Regions from separate parts of the Homo sapiens genome. Here region 2 is linked to region 1. Evidence: promoter capture Hi-C in human tissues and cell types (Jung and others, 2019). All regions are on one chromosome and are shown on one strand. Each heading gives the region's core, a stretch centred on a gene start or on the middle of the fragment in contact. The rest is flanking DNA. Distances are from core to core; before and after follow the strand shown.

The links. Contacts are between HindIII fragments. The study calls those that stand out against the background at their distance.
Region 2: a contact is called between a fragment that was not itself captured here and the fragment with the promoter of ITGBL1 in region 1, in 1 of the 25 tissues and cell types used here (H1 embryonic stem cells).

What each region holds. Positions count from the first base shown.
Region 1 is chr13:101,449,305-101,456,210 of GRCh38, forward strand. It overlaps ITGBL1 (integrin subunit beta like 1), which reads left to right and starts at 3,371. Exons shown (of 11, transcript NM_004791.3): 1 at 3,371-3,627; 2 at 4,579-4,796. The coding sequence starts at 3,530. RefSeq lists enhancers at 416-1,615, 2,949-3,453. The HindIII fragment of the contact is 7,410 bases long and covers 683-6,906 here.
Region 2 is chr13:101,580,295-101,587,200 of GRCh38, forward strand. ITGBL1 (integrin subunit beta like 1) reads left to right here. Exons shown (of 11, transcript NM_004791.3): 6 at 2,922-3,062. Among named protein-coding and RNA genes, the nearest start is that of ITGBL1, 130 kb to the left of the region's middle. The HindIII fragment of the contact is 3,440 bases long and covers 1,516-4,955 here.

The sequences.
Region 1 (6,906 bases), core at 2,121-4,620:
GTGAATATGACCTTCAGTTTTATTGGGAGAAATATAGCATATGAAACAAGAATACTCAAAGTACTGATCTATTCCACATCCATTAGGCCACAGCTTCTTGAATGGTTTCAGTTGTATATATCATACTTTCCAAAAGGCATCCATCCCAGAAAAAGCAAAAATGCTCAGAAAATCAGGGTTTTGAAAGCTTGAAGTTATAATACGTAAGAAAGAGGTGAAGGCAATGAAAATATTTATCTTTAAGAAGTGTAGAATTGTTTGGGGGTTATATAGACTGGGGAATATACTATTACATCATTGAATATTTGATTCAAGGCTAGTGGCTAGAATATTATTTTAAATGTCTTCTTAGAGTAGACCTGGAACCAAGGGGTGAAACCTTCAAAGCAATTCTCAGAAAAGGATGTGGTCCTCTTAATTTTTGTTTTTTTACCAAGGCCACCTAATTACTTGGCAAATATACGGTATGTTATCAACAAATTTAGTTTTGAACTAGACAACCTTTAAAAAATACCTTGAAGGCTGAAATTCTCTGATTGTGTAACCTGAGGACTGAAGGACTCCATTCAAGGACTAGGGTGTTTTCAATCTTTTTGAATTCAGTTCCAGATGCACCCGGTCCTTTCAGGCACCCTTCATTATGCATCCAACCTACTGCTGTGTCCCCAGCCAGCAGAAGTGAGAAACTCAGGACCTTTCTTGGCACATGTGCGTCCTTGAGGTTCTGAAAACTGGGAAAATGGAAGGAGTAGGTGTTTCCAAGGCATTCAATACTTTGGTTAAAAAAAAAAAAAAAGAATGCTAAAAGGCATAAATTTAAAGTTACCCTTTGATTTTGACAGAGTTTCTGTGGATCCAAGACTTTCGACTGAGTCACCAAGTCAGCCACAATATAACTATTTCAACTGACTGGGAATATTATTTCTGAGTCATAGTAATGTAATGATCTGAACATTTATATTCTCTCAGTTACCTAGTACATACTAACTTCATTTCAAAGGTGAATAATATATTAAAGAGAATATTGCTTATTGAATACTACACTGTATGAAAATACTACAGGTTAAAAAATCACTTAAATCCATTAAAAATGTTCAAATATCAAGTCCCTATTTCATAATAAATTTTCCCTCAGAAAATATGCAAGGAGTAAACAATACATGACTCATTTATTAAAGCTTCCATGTTTTTATTGCAAATTCCTAGTTGGGCTTTGGAATAGATACTTCCCTTCTATCATTACCACATTCTCTGAGTCACTAGGTTTCTAGATGTTGACAGGAAAGCCTGTTCCTATGTCCTTGTACTATCACACGTGGGCAGGATAAAATGTAACTCTAGAATTTGTACTAAAGGTGGGTGGAAATTCCACTCTTAGATCCAGGCACCCTCAGGCGTCAGCCCTGAGCCCTGTGCTTTGCAAACTTCTCAAGCTATTATTATGTAAAAATAGATATCTTGGGATATTATTCAAATGCACTCTGTGATTCCTTAGAGCTGGGGTTGGGGCCTGAGAAGTTGCATTTCCATAAGTTCCCAAATGATGCTGATGTTGCTGCAGGTCCATGGACCACGCTTTAAGAACAACTGACTTAGTAATTCCCATTCTGTCTCTTTTAGACAGGCCCTTCCCCCACAGGCTGCAGTTCATGTGACTTAGGGAACCTGCCAACTCAGAACCTGTGTCCTTTTTTCCTAAGCCGCACTTTGGTTATCCAAGACCCCAGAATTACCTGTCCAGACAGCCTCCCAAAACTGTGCATACCTGTCCCCAGTCTGTCCTTGCAATAGAAGACTCCACCAGTGTGTACACACCTGTATCTAAGTGTGGCCAGAAAATCAGCTATTTGAAAAAGGTTAAATTGTGTGGGTAGGGGTTGGGGGGTGGGGGGACACACAGATGGGCCTCATGCAAAACCTCCCCTATTACAGGGTGGAGATTGGGGTAGAAACAGAAATGTACTATGATTAGAGGACCTTCATCGTCTTCTTGCTCCAGCAGGCTAGTGTTGTGGTGGTCTTACCCTTATACCTACTTATATATAAAGGACAGGGAGAAATCCCATCCTATTATGGCTCATCCCTGATTTTAAGGATCTGGGACCACAGATGATTCTTGGATGGTTCTATTTCATGAGGAAGGATTGCATGTACAGTGCTCTTCTTAGGGTGAATGAAAAATGTTTTCCCCCTTCCATATAACCCTCTACACATTTTCCCAGATGACCATAAATGTAGGGGATAGTGTATGCACTTTGGATTTCAGCTGAAATACGACTAACTTCCTCTGTGAATTTGAGCAAGTCAGTTGACCTCTTTGCCCTCAGTTTCTTTATCTTTAAAATGGGAGTAAGAATGTCTCCCTGTTCTCTTCCATCTCCTTCTTATTTCTACCCAATTTAATTCAATACTTTTTTCAGTTTTTTGTTCAGATGCTACCATCTTTGATTAGATCAAGTGCCTGTATCTCATCTGGAAGTAACTTCTCACTGCACTTGCAACCCTTTGTTCTTTTTTTTTGTGGTTTTGTGTTGATTAATGTCTTTCTAGCTCATTGGACTCTGAGAGAGCAGGGATCATGTCTCCTTAGTTCTCTGTTATATTCATTCTGTCTTGCACAAAACCTGGCACCTGATAGATGCTAAATCCCCATTTGCTAATGCATAAATAAATGTGTGATTATTGTCATAATTAGAGAAAACATACTAAATGACTGGCACATAGTAGGTGCTTAGTAAATGACACCAATTGTTTTTCAGTGCAATTTGTGCTATAAATAAACATTTAATTTTCTTTTCTCACATTTGATATATGGGGAGAATGGGGTGAATTTGAGACAACTACAATTTAAACTGTCCAAGTCACCAACAAATTGTGGTGTGATAAGCTACTGGCCTAAACAGCTGGAAGCATGACACGCTTTTTAAAGACTAAAGAAATGAAATATCCAGTTTAAATCAAAGGATAATAAATGCAAGAAAAAGTTGTGTTTGTCAGATTTCCTTGCCCCGGCCCCAACCCAAACTCCAAAGAGTGCATCTACTTTAAAAGCGTGTGGTGAAAGTAATTCCCTACCCAAGTGTTCCCACTACTGTCACTGGCCTCACCCTTCTCCACAACTCAGGGATTATTTTAAAGGTTTCTTTAATATCGGCCAGTCCAAATATTCTCTTGTCAAATATTTCTGTGGCCCGTACTTGAAATCTGTGAACAGGACACTTTTTTTTTTTTTAATGTCAAAATAAACCATCTGCTTGTACAACTGTTTCTAATTACTTCCCTGCCTAGACTCTCCACTGAGGGGTTTGGCACCAGCACCCCGCCCAGAGCAGTGCCGCTGCCCAAATCCTCGCAGGCAGCTCATCAACGCAATTGCAACTCCGGCTGGAGCCCCGGACCTGCAAGCCTGGGTGTCCGTGGGTCCGTCTGCCCAGCCATCTGCTGGTGGCACCTCTCCCTCCTGCCGCCTCCCTCGGTGAACCCCACCTTGCAGAAGTGCAGCTCGCCCGGAGCAGCCCAGGAGCTCAGCATGCGTCCCCCAGGCTTCAGGAACTTCTTGCTGCTGGCGTCCTCCCTTCTCTTTGCTGGGTTGTCAGCTGTTCCTCAAAGCTTCTCGCCATCTCTGAGGTAAGTTTGGTTTGTTATTCTTCAGTACAGACCTGCCCTGCTTATGTGGCAGGGCTCAAGCTTGCAGGATGGCTGCCCTAAGCCAAGAGCTGTTATTAAATTGGACAAGGGATAAACTGTTTTCAACCTGTTCCTTTTCCTCTCCTTATATCTACAGCGTGTATTGCCTCATGTCTGTCCTTTTGCTTTTCCTTTGGAAAAATGCAATCATTGAATAAAAATATAATTTTCTTTTCTGCAAATACATATCAGGAGGAATTCCTGCTGTGAGTTAAAATGCTATGTGTACCAGTATCTTCTCACAACATGTAAAGCAGAATGATCTGTTTCCCAAGGGCAGCAACAGGAGGTCTGTGTTACATTTTGTATCATCCTGAAAGAGACTGAGTGAGGCACACTGCAATAGTGAAACTAAACTTTTTAAAAGTAGAGTTCCTAAAGACTGCTTAATGCAAATTATGCCCGATGCTATCATAGCATGTCTAACTCTTTCTATAGATTCACGTTTTCTCTTCTGTAATATAAGTGCCCATTGGCCATCAGATAGCAGTGGGACGTTTTTTAAAGGAGAACTGAAAAGTCAGCTGAGTGCCGTACCTTGGATTACTTTGTATTTAATCTAAATGTGCATATAAGATTTAGTGATAAACTACCAAAGAGCAGGGCAGTTCACCTCTGTCCACCTGGAGGAAGGACCTGTGTCCGGGGGCAGGTCACCCATTACACATTTTGGGCCCTGGTCATTTCTCTGGTGGGTGATACCTGTTTGCTTGGGAAAATACAGCCCTTCCAGGCAGCGCTTGGACCCCAGAGAGATGTGGGCCTCAGGCGTCCTGTTCTTGGGGTTGTACGTCTGCACCTGGAGGGGACACTGGGGAGGAAACGTGGGTTCGGAGCAGGGGGCGGCGTCCGCGTCTGACCCGGCCTGCCGGTTGCTTGTCGCCCGCGCAGGAGCTGGCCGGGCGCCGCCTGCAGGCTGTCCCGGGCCGAGTCGGAGCGACGCTGCCGCGCACCTGGGCAGCCCCCGGGGGCCGCGCTGTGCCACGGCCGGGGCCGCTGCGACTGCGGCGTCTGCATCTGCCACGTGACTGAGCCGGGCATGTTCTTCGGGCCCCTGTGTGAGTGCCATGAGTGGGTGTGCGAGACCTACGACGGGAGCACCTGTGCAGGTAAGAGGGCGGCGCTGTCTCCTCCCTCGGGAGGTCGAAACTCCTCTTCTGGGATTTCTGCCACTCCCTAGAAGAGTGAAGGGTGGGGACACGCCTCCCTTCACATAAGCACCAATTAAGTTACTGCGATTGTCACACTTTGGCTAGTTAATTCTGGCATCATTTATCACAACACTTTTATCCCCCAGGCTCTGAACTTGAATGGAAGTAAAGTTTTAAAAATTCATTCACTTAATTATATATTTTATTGTAATTATGATTTTTTAAAGTTGGGATCTTGCTATGTTGCCCTGGCTGGTCCCCCCCCCCCCCCCCAACTCCTGGAATCAAGCTATCCTCCCTCCTGAGCTTCCCAAAGTGTTGGGATTACAGGCGTGAGCCACTGCACCTGGCCGTCATTTGCTTAATTCTAAAATCTCACTTGCCTCTAAAGTTCCTCATTATAGACTAAATTCCCCAATGTCCTCACAAATGGAGTTATTTTACTGGGTTCTCCTATCCCTATCAAGAATGTTAATGATAATATTTGTAGATCTTAGGCCTGTATTTTATTTTACATAGGAAACAGTGGGAGGGGGAATGTATTATTTTCCTCCATTCTAGGGAGGCAGGTTTTGTCTTTGAAGCCTGATTTGCCCTCTCATTATTAGAATATAGTTCACAGGCAGGAGTGCATATCAGAAAACTGTAACAAGGAAAAAAGTAAACGGGCACATATTTACTTAGAATGACTGTTCTTGCATTGTTCTAGCTGCTTGAATTTTTGAGTTGCAATGAAACTTGGTATTTTCTGAGGGTGGAGTGAAAATACATTCATTTCCCTTGCACATTTTTAAGGAGTGATTCAGGTTCTGATATTGGAAAGGGTCAAAAAATTCCTTCCCAGAGAACACCCTTAACCTCTTTACCTGTGTCGTTTTACTTAAGGCCAAGAGCCTCAATTAGTGCCTTGTGAGTGACACAGAACTCCATTAGTGAAAGCACAACACAATGCATTCCAGCCAGGGTTTGGCAAATTTGTAGGAAAAACCAGCCACTTATTTTACCCTCAATGTAGCTAAGAATAATAAGACAGCCAACACTAACATAGAAAGATCAAGAATGAGTTTATAGCAAAATATTTTTTTCTCGGAACCTGGGCCCAGTAGTGTATAAGTTACTTAATATGCAGGCTGCTTGGCAATGCAAAAAATAGTCATAGAAGAAATTTGGAGGGGCGCAGGTGCATCTACTTGATTTGTTTTCCCTGTGAAGGCTGTGGATCAACTCTTTAAAAATACTGAATGCTGGGTGGGGTGGCTCACACCTGTAATCCCAGCACTTTGGGAGGCCGAGGCAGGTGAATCACTTGAGGTCAGGAGTTCAAGACCAGCCTCGCCAACTTGCTGAAACCCAGTCTCTACTAAAAATACAAAAATTAGCTGGGCGTCGTGGCATGTGCCTGTAATCCCAGCTACTTGGGAGGCCGAGGCAGAATTGCTTGAACCTGGGAGGCAGAGGTTGCAGAGAGCCAAGATCATGCCACTGCACTCCAGCCTGGGCAACAGAGCGAGACTTCATCTCAATAAATAAATTAATAAATAAAATTAAAATATTGGATGCCACAACTTGTTATTTAACTTCGCAGTCCTACAAACCGCAGTATAATTAAGGGTAGCCCTTTGGAATGAAAGCTAAGTTACCGCCTAATATTTCATTCCAAATTTGACTGTTACTTGGCTTCTCTGACCTATGGCCTCTGGCAAGCCCTCTTCAATATCATGAATTTTGAACAAATTTTCCAGGGCTTTTTCTCTTGTTTTATTAGAGAAGTAAGAGGTAAGATGCAGCCTTTAACTGGTGAAAGTTGTGAGTGTCGTCAGATTCACTTTCCCTGTTGAAGAACCTAGGCTGGTGCTTTTCTCCGAGAAACTATGCAGAAGGAATGCTGTGGTAGACAGCATTCCTTTTTCCCTCCCATAGAAAATGATATGTTGTTTACTCATAGCATCTTAGTCACTGCATTCCTTCCTTCTTGATACGAAATGCAGGACTGAGTCAAGCATGGTTTTGTTTGGTTATGCATGCATTTCTGTAGAAGATGAAATGCTTCTCTTTATTTTAATACTGA
Region 2 (6,906 bases), core at 1,986-4,485, 130 kb after region 1:
GACATAGAGGAGTAAAATGTGCCACATTTCTTTACATAGAGAAAATAAATAAAAAGGCAGGAACTTGGAACAAAATCATGAAGTCTTCCTTTGTGGGGACTAAATCTTACTATATATCATACTAATTTACCTTATGGTTTCTTTTTATTATTTATTATTATTATACTTTAAGTTCTAGGGTGCATTGCACAACGTGCATGTTTGTTACATATGTATACATGTGCCATGTTGGTGTGCTGCACCCATTAACTTATCATTTACATTAGGTATATCTCCTAATGCTTCCCCTCCCCACTACCCCCACATCACAACAGGCCCCAGTGTGTGATGTTCTCCTTCCTGTGTCCAATGTGTTTTCTGCATAAGTCCTTTTATGCAGTAGGGGTCACAGTCACCATTTTTAAGTATATGAAGCTTGAACTCTGGTACTGTGGAAAATGACTATTTGGCTGTCAAAAAGAGAGAGGTGGAAAATGGAATTGGTTGGGCTGTGGATTAAGGTCAGGTTCTGCAGCAGAGTTACATTGGCTGTGAGAGACGATGTCCTTCAGAAACATAAGCTAAGCCACCTGCATCCCACTTCGCTGTGCTTGGAGCATTCTGACCTGGAGCTATGGCAGAGGCAGAATGGGAAGCAGCTTGCCTGAGCGAGGCTCACAGCTTCTGAGATTCAGGGGTACTTGAAGACAGGGCAGAAGTGGGCGCTGAGATGAGTCATTTTTTTTTCTCAAAAGATAATACTCCTGACTACCCTGAAAGCATTTCTGCATCATTGCATCCATAGGTAATAGAAACACACTGGTCCCTGCACATACCTATCTTGTCTTCCTTTTTCCCCATCTTCAGGGGCCAAAAAACCAATGTTGCAGACATAAGCATTAATAGAACAAATGTCCTCTATTGCCCATCTGTTTTATTGAGTTTCATAGTGGACCCCTTTACACGTGGCTGAGAAGCTGCTTCTTCGTCACATCTGCATAGCTCCTAGTCCCTGTTCCTCCTGACCAAACTCATTTATCCTATTATGAGAGCAATGCATATTCATTTTTTAAAATCTAGATAATAAAGTAGAGTACACAGAAAAATAAGAAAGTGACCCATAAACCTAACTTCCAGGTGTAACCTCCTTTTACATTTTGGTACATGAGCTTTCAGTCCGTATTTATTTATTAAAATTCATTTTTATGGCTGCCCTATCCCTGTATTTCCTTCTTATTAAAGAAAAAAAATCAAATCATACTGCACGTGCTGATTTGTAATTTTACAGTTTTATTTCATGATATATGTTGTTTATCTTTCCATATTTATGGGGCAAAAACCTAATTTATTACTTAGTGATTGCTAGGTAGTCCATATGTGTGTACCATTACTGCGCTAATTCCCCATTGAACAATATTTCGGTCACTAGTAATTTTTCAAAAACATAAATACAACTATATTTTATATTTCTGAACATACACTTGTGTGTACTTTTTCTTTCTGTTGGGTACATTAATTAAAGTGAGCTATAAGTCTGAATAATAACACAGATATAAAAAGTACATATTGCAAAATCGCTACCCAGAAAGTTGTACCATTTCGTACTCCCCTTCAGGGCAAGAAAGTACCCATTGTCCCACACCTTTACCGAGTCTGGATCCAACAATATTTTCCACCTCTGACGATCTGACTTCTAAAATAATTGCCAATCACGATTATTTTGAAGATCTGCCACTGCTACCCACTTAGTAGTGGTTGATTGAGTGATAAACATTTTTCATCTTTATCTGTCATTATTTCTGTATGAAATTTCCTTTTGTTCTTTCCTTTTGTCTATTTCACTTTGGGCATATTAATCCTTTATATATTCAATTCTATGATTTATTTATATGTTTTTGAAATTGTTCTTTGTCTTTTACAGACATATTAACTACTTGTTTCAGCTTTGTCAGTCTTTTTTTTACAGTGTTTTGTTTCCAACCAAAATTTTCAATTTTTATGGAAATTTTCAATTTCCTTTTTTAGTAATTGTGCTTTGGGGTCTTGAATAAAAAGAGTTTAGTTCATATTATACAGTTTTATTTTGTACGTTTAAATCTTTAATCCAACTGGTACTTATTTTGATGTAAGAGGTAAGAAAAGGATTTAACTTTATGTCTCTATCAAATGATTAGCTGGTTGCCCTAAAGACAGTTACTGATAATCCACACAGAGTAAACATGATGTACAGCTGGGCATTTCCCTCTGCAAATCTGCAAATGACCAAGTTTATGTCTCTCAATCTGATCTCCAACATTCTCTATAATCTGGGCTCATCTGATCTAGCAAACCTTACTTCTTAGTCTTTTTTATTTTTTAACATGCACCTCAGGGTCCCTATGCCCATCCCTACCCTTCTTTGCTCAGTCTTTTTTTCTTGACTTTCTCTTAGTTCTACCTCCAATGTCTCCTAGAACATTTCCTCTAATCCCTATATATCCAATCCATCCACTGCTAATTACTCCAACACTCATTGATCCTCTTTCTCCAAATTCTTAGAGCATTCATGTCTTAGTTTACAAAATATTTGCACATTGTTTTTAGTGTTTGTTAATTTTTCTTTCTAATTAGCTTTCTATTTGCCAAATAGATTGCAAGCTTCTTGGGGGAAAGGATTATATCTTATATAAATTGTTTTAGTGTTATCTTTGAAGGAAACTAACATAATACTAATGACACATTCCACCAACTCACATAATTATAGAATAGATAATAACTTTTGTTTATTAAGGAATCTCTATTATCAATATTAGATGGTGTTTTTCCTTTTTAGAATATTTTTGTCTGAATATATGTGTTTTTTTCAAACACAAAGTAAACAGAAAATAATAAGCGATATGTGAAATGCTTTCTTTCATGGTTTTTCTTGACTGGATTCTTATAAAATTCTTCTTCCCACCTAGGGACTTGTGTATGTGGTGAATGTACCTGTCACGATGTTGATCCGACTGGGGACTGGGGAGATATTCATGGGGACACCTGTGAATGTGATGAGAGGGACTGTAGAGCTGTCTATGACCGATATTCTGATGACTTCTGTTCAGGTAAGGGCTCTTCCAATTCCTGTTTTTCTGGAGGGGGAGGTGGGGCTTGTTAATGGGTAAAAAAAAAAAAAAAGCAATTAGAAAGAATAAATAAGACATACTGTTGGATAGCACAATAGGGTGACTATAGTCAATAACTTAATTGTACATTTTTAAATAATGTAAAGAGTATAATTGGATTGTTTGTAACACAAAGGATAAATGCTTGGAGGGGATGGATACCCCATTCTCCATGATGTACTTATTTCACATTGCATGCCCGTATCAAAACATCCCATGTACCCCATAAACATATGCATCTACTATGTACCCACAAAAATTTAAAAAGTAATGAATAAAAAATAAAAATGCATATTTCCCTGTTTTCAAGATTTCTGATTCTCACATACCCTGTAAAAGAAACTGAATGTGTATTCTAAAGCATCTTATATTTGCAGTGCTCCTACTGGTAACTTGGAAAACCTCCAGAGAATTCCCAAAGTTGGCAAAGACTAGAGATGAGAGGGCACCCACTCTTTTAAAGTTAGTCTAATTCCTCACCCAGGAGAACCATTAGCTCTAGATAGCTACTCAGTTCAACTCTGAGACTACAAAACTAGCAGAGCTGTTGACAATGAACAGGATAGTTATCATTAGGGCACCTATATTAATGTATTACAAAACAGGATAATACAGTGCTCAGGGTTATTTTGTGCATTAACTCTTTGATAGGCTTTAATGTTATTCTGCAATGTAGTCTGTAATTAAATATCAATTAGTAGATTCAAAAATCTTTGACTGTAAATACTGTGGGGCAGATACTGTCTGTTAGGGACTGAGTGACATCTGGGCTACTGGTGTAGTAGGAGCCAGTAGGGGACAGGAGACAGCCATGAACTTTGACTTCATGGAGTTTGCAATCTAAATGCAAATAAATAAAATATGTAAGTCCAGGATGTCTAATAGTGCAAAGAAAAAGAAAGCAGTCAGAAGTCTATCTGAAAAGGTATCATTTAGCAAAAATGGAGTTATAGATTTTCAGTCCAGTTCTATTTGATAACCCATAAGGTAGACACATACACATATACATCTTGCTAAGCTTGACTGCCTCATTGGTGCATGCAGATGGATAGAAACTCCTCTGGTCTCCTGAAAGTTTGCCAGCAAAGGGAGATAAAAGAACTGTCCCATTTAATTATGAGTGTGCAACTTCAAAGGCTTCTCCAGACTGACTGGGGAAAGCCTGCTGCTAAATCTTCCCATTGCAGAAGGGTTTCCCTCTTCTGATAATCTCTTGTGCTCCAGAGGATTTCCTAAACATTTTGTGAACACTATTCTCTTGAGGGTATTTTTTTCTATTATTAATTATACATGCTCATGTTCTTCATTATCATTGCTGTCAACACAGTGGTAATAAAAGAGCTCATGACTAGTGAGTGGCTTCTGTGTTCCAAAGAGATGATGAGAATAGTGGGGAAGAGGCCTGTTGGAGATTTTAATTAGGATGATGTGGCTCTTCACAGTGGTGGTGATGTAGGGCTCATGAATTGCAGGAGGCTATTGGATCACAGTGCATGTGGGTTTTATCCTAAAAAAAATAGGCTTGCAGGTAAAGAAAGATGAGAGGGGCATTCCAAGCAGAAGGAACAGAGGGATAGAATCTGTGTATAGGACCAGACTCAGTTTGAAATTACCAGAATGCAGAATTAAGGAAGCATGTGGTAAAAGGTAAAGTTGGTTGAGAAACAAGAACTGGGGGGCTTTTTACCTTCCTGCAGACCCAGGTTTTATTCTAAAGGCAATGAGGAGCTAATGATGGTTTTAGGCAATAGAGTGCTGTCATCACCAGATTTCTAGTCTGAGTGTCTGGGAAAATGTTGGTGCCATTTACTGAAATAGGGAATATGGAAGGAAGCTGTCAAGTTTGTTTCTAGACATCTCCAGCATAGAGGGCAAAGGGTAAGCCAAAGTTTATATTTTTTCCCAGCCTGTTGAATATGTGAGTCAGGGTCAGGGTTAAACCAAGAGAATTTCAAGTTGTAAGCATAGAGTTGGTGGTTAAAACTATGCTGGCATTCAGGAAATGCCATTTGACAATACCATTTTCTTTTTTGAGATGGAGTCTCCCTCTGTTGCCCAGGCTGGAGTGCAGTGGCATGATCTCAGCTCACTGCGAGCTCCACCTCCCAGGTTCACACCATTCTCCTGCCTCAGCCTCCCGAGCAGCTGGGGCTACAGGTGCCCACCACCACGCCCGGCTTATTTTTTTGTATTTTTAGTAGAGAAGGGTTTCACTGTGTTAGCCAGGATGGTCTCAATCTCCTGACCTTGTGATCCGCCAGCCTCGGCCTCCCAAAGTGCTGGGATTACAGGTGTGAGCCACCTCCCCCGGCGGCAATGTCATTTTAAGATTGCTTTTGAGATAAACATGATTTGACACAATTTAAAATAAGAAAATAAGGGAGGCATATAAAAGGCAGTATTTTAAAATTGTAAGTGTGTGACTTGCTGATATGGAGCCCCTTTTTCCTATGGGTATTCACTCTCTTGTGAAATCCATAATTCTGATGTTGATCCTGATTTTGGACTGGGGTTGAAAAATTCAAACTAACTACATTATAGCGATAATTCAGGGTCCTGTGAGCCAGTCCATCTCACTGTGAGGGAGTGGGGTCATGGGGTAAAGATGGGTGATCACTCCTGAACTGACACTTCAATCCTCGTGTAAGCTTGTGTGCAATTCCCGCAGCGTGTCATTTAGTCTTGGAGTGCTTACTCTAGGCTGAGCAGGTGAAGTGTCATTAAGGAGGCTGCACTGGAATCTAATTTTCCACCTCACCTATTCCCCTCCAACCCCTCTTCCCTGTTTTCCTTTTTCTCACATTTTCCTTTCTTTCATACCCTATGAGATTCCACACAGTGGGTATGGACAGGTAGGGGTAGGAAGAGGTGATGGCACAATTGGCTGTAGTTTGAACAAGAAAACATCAATCTATTATTGTGATTTTATGATTCGCTGGTTGAAGTGAATTGAACATGGCCAGCTTTCCACAGCTTGGCTCCCACACTTAGAATGAGGAATTGAGGAAAGAGGAAGAAACTCATATTTACAGAGACTCTACTCTATTGGACCCTTGCTGAGTTCTTTTATAAACCTCATTCCATTTTATGTACACACTAACTCAGAGAGGGAGGCATTATTGTCTATAGTTTAGCAGAAGAGAAAATACATTCAGAGAAATTAAGTAACTTGATAAAGTTCACACTGCCATAAAAGTGTCATCTGAAAACACATATAGCCTGACTACTCATGTAACTTAATCTCCAGGTGATGCAAATACAATTCTCCAGTTTTACTTTATTTTTCTGAGGAAGAACTGTCCTCTGGGTACTCAGATTTTTTTAAAATAAAACTAAGCTTCTCTGAACATCATTACAATCTGGAGCAGACATCAACCTCTGCAGTATTTCATCATTCTTACAGAATCTGTAGAATTCTATATACTGTATGGTATTATGCTTATTAGTCTTTAAATTTTTCCTAATTAACAGTCTAAGTTGCAGTGTAAGAAGAGTGCCATATAGTTGATTATTGAGTATATTAATACCTTTGTGTTATGAGACAGAAGTAACCCAATGACATCAATATTCTCTAGTCTTTCATGCAAGACTAGAACATAATAAGGCTCTGATGAAATGAACTTTTATTTTTAGCTCCTATTCTTGCCATCCTGAGAGTTTTGGTCTTATTTAAGTCCAAGGGAAGTCTCTGGACGGATTAGTTTAAGTTAGCTCTTTTAATTGACATTCTCATTTTATTCATTCATTTCCATTCTCTCCATTTATCTGTTCAATAATGCATTTA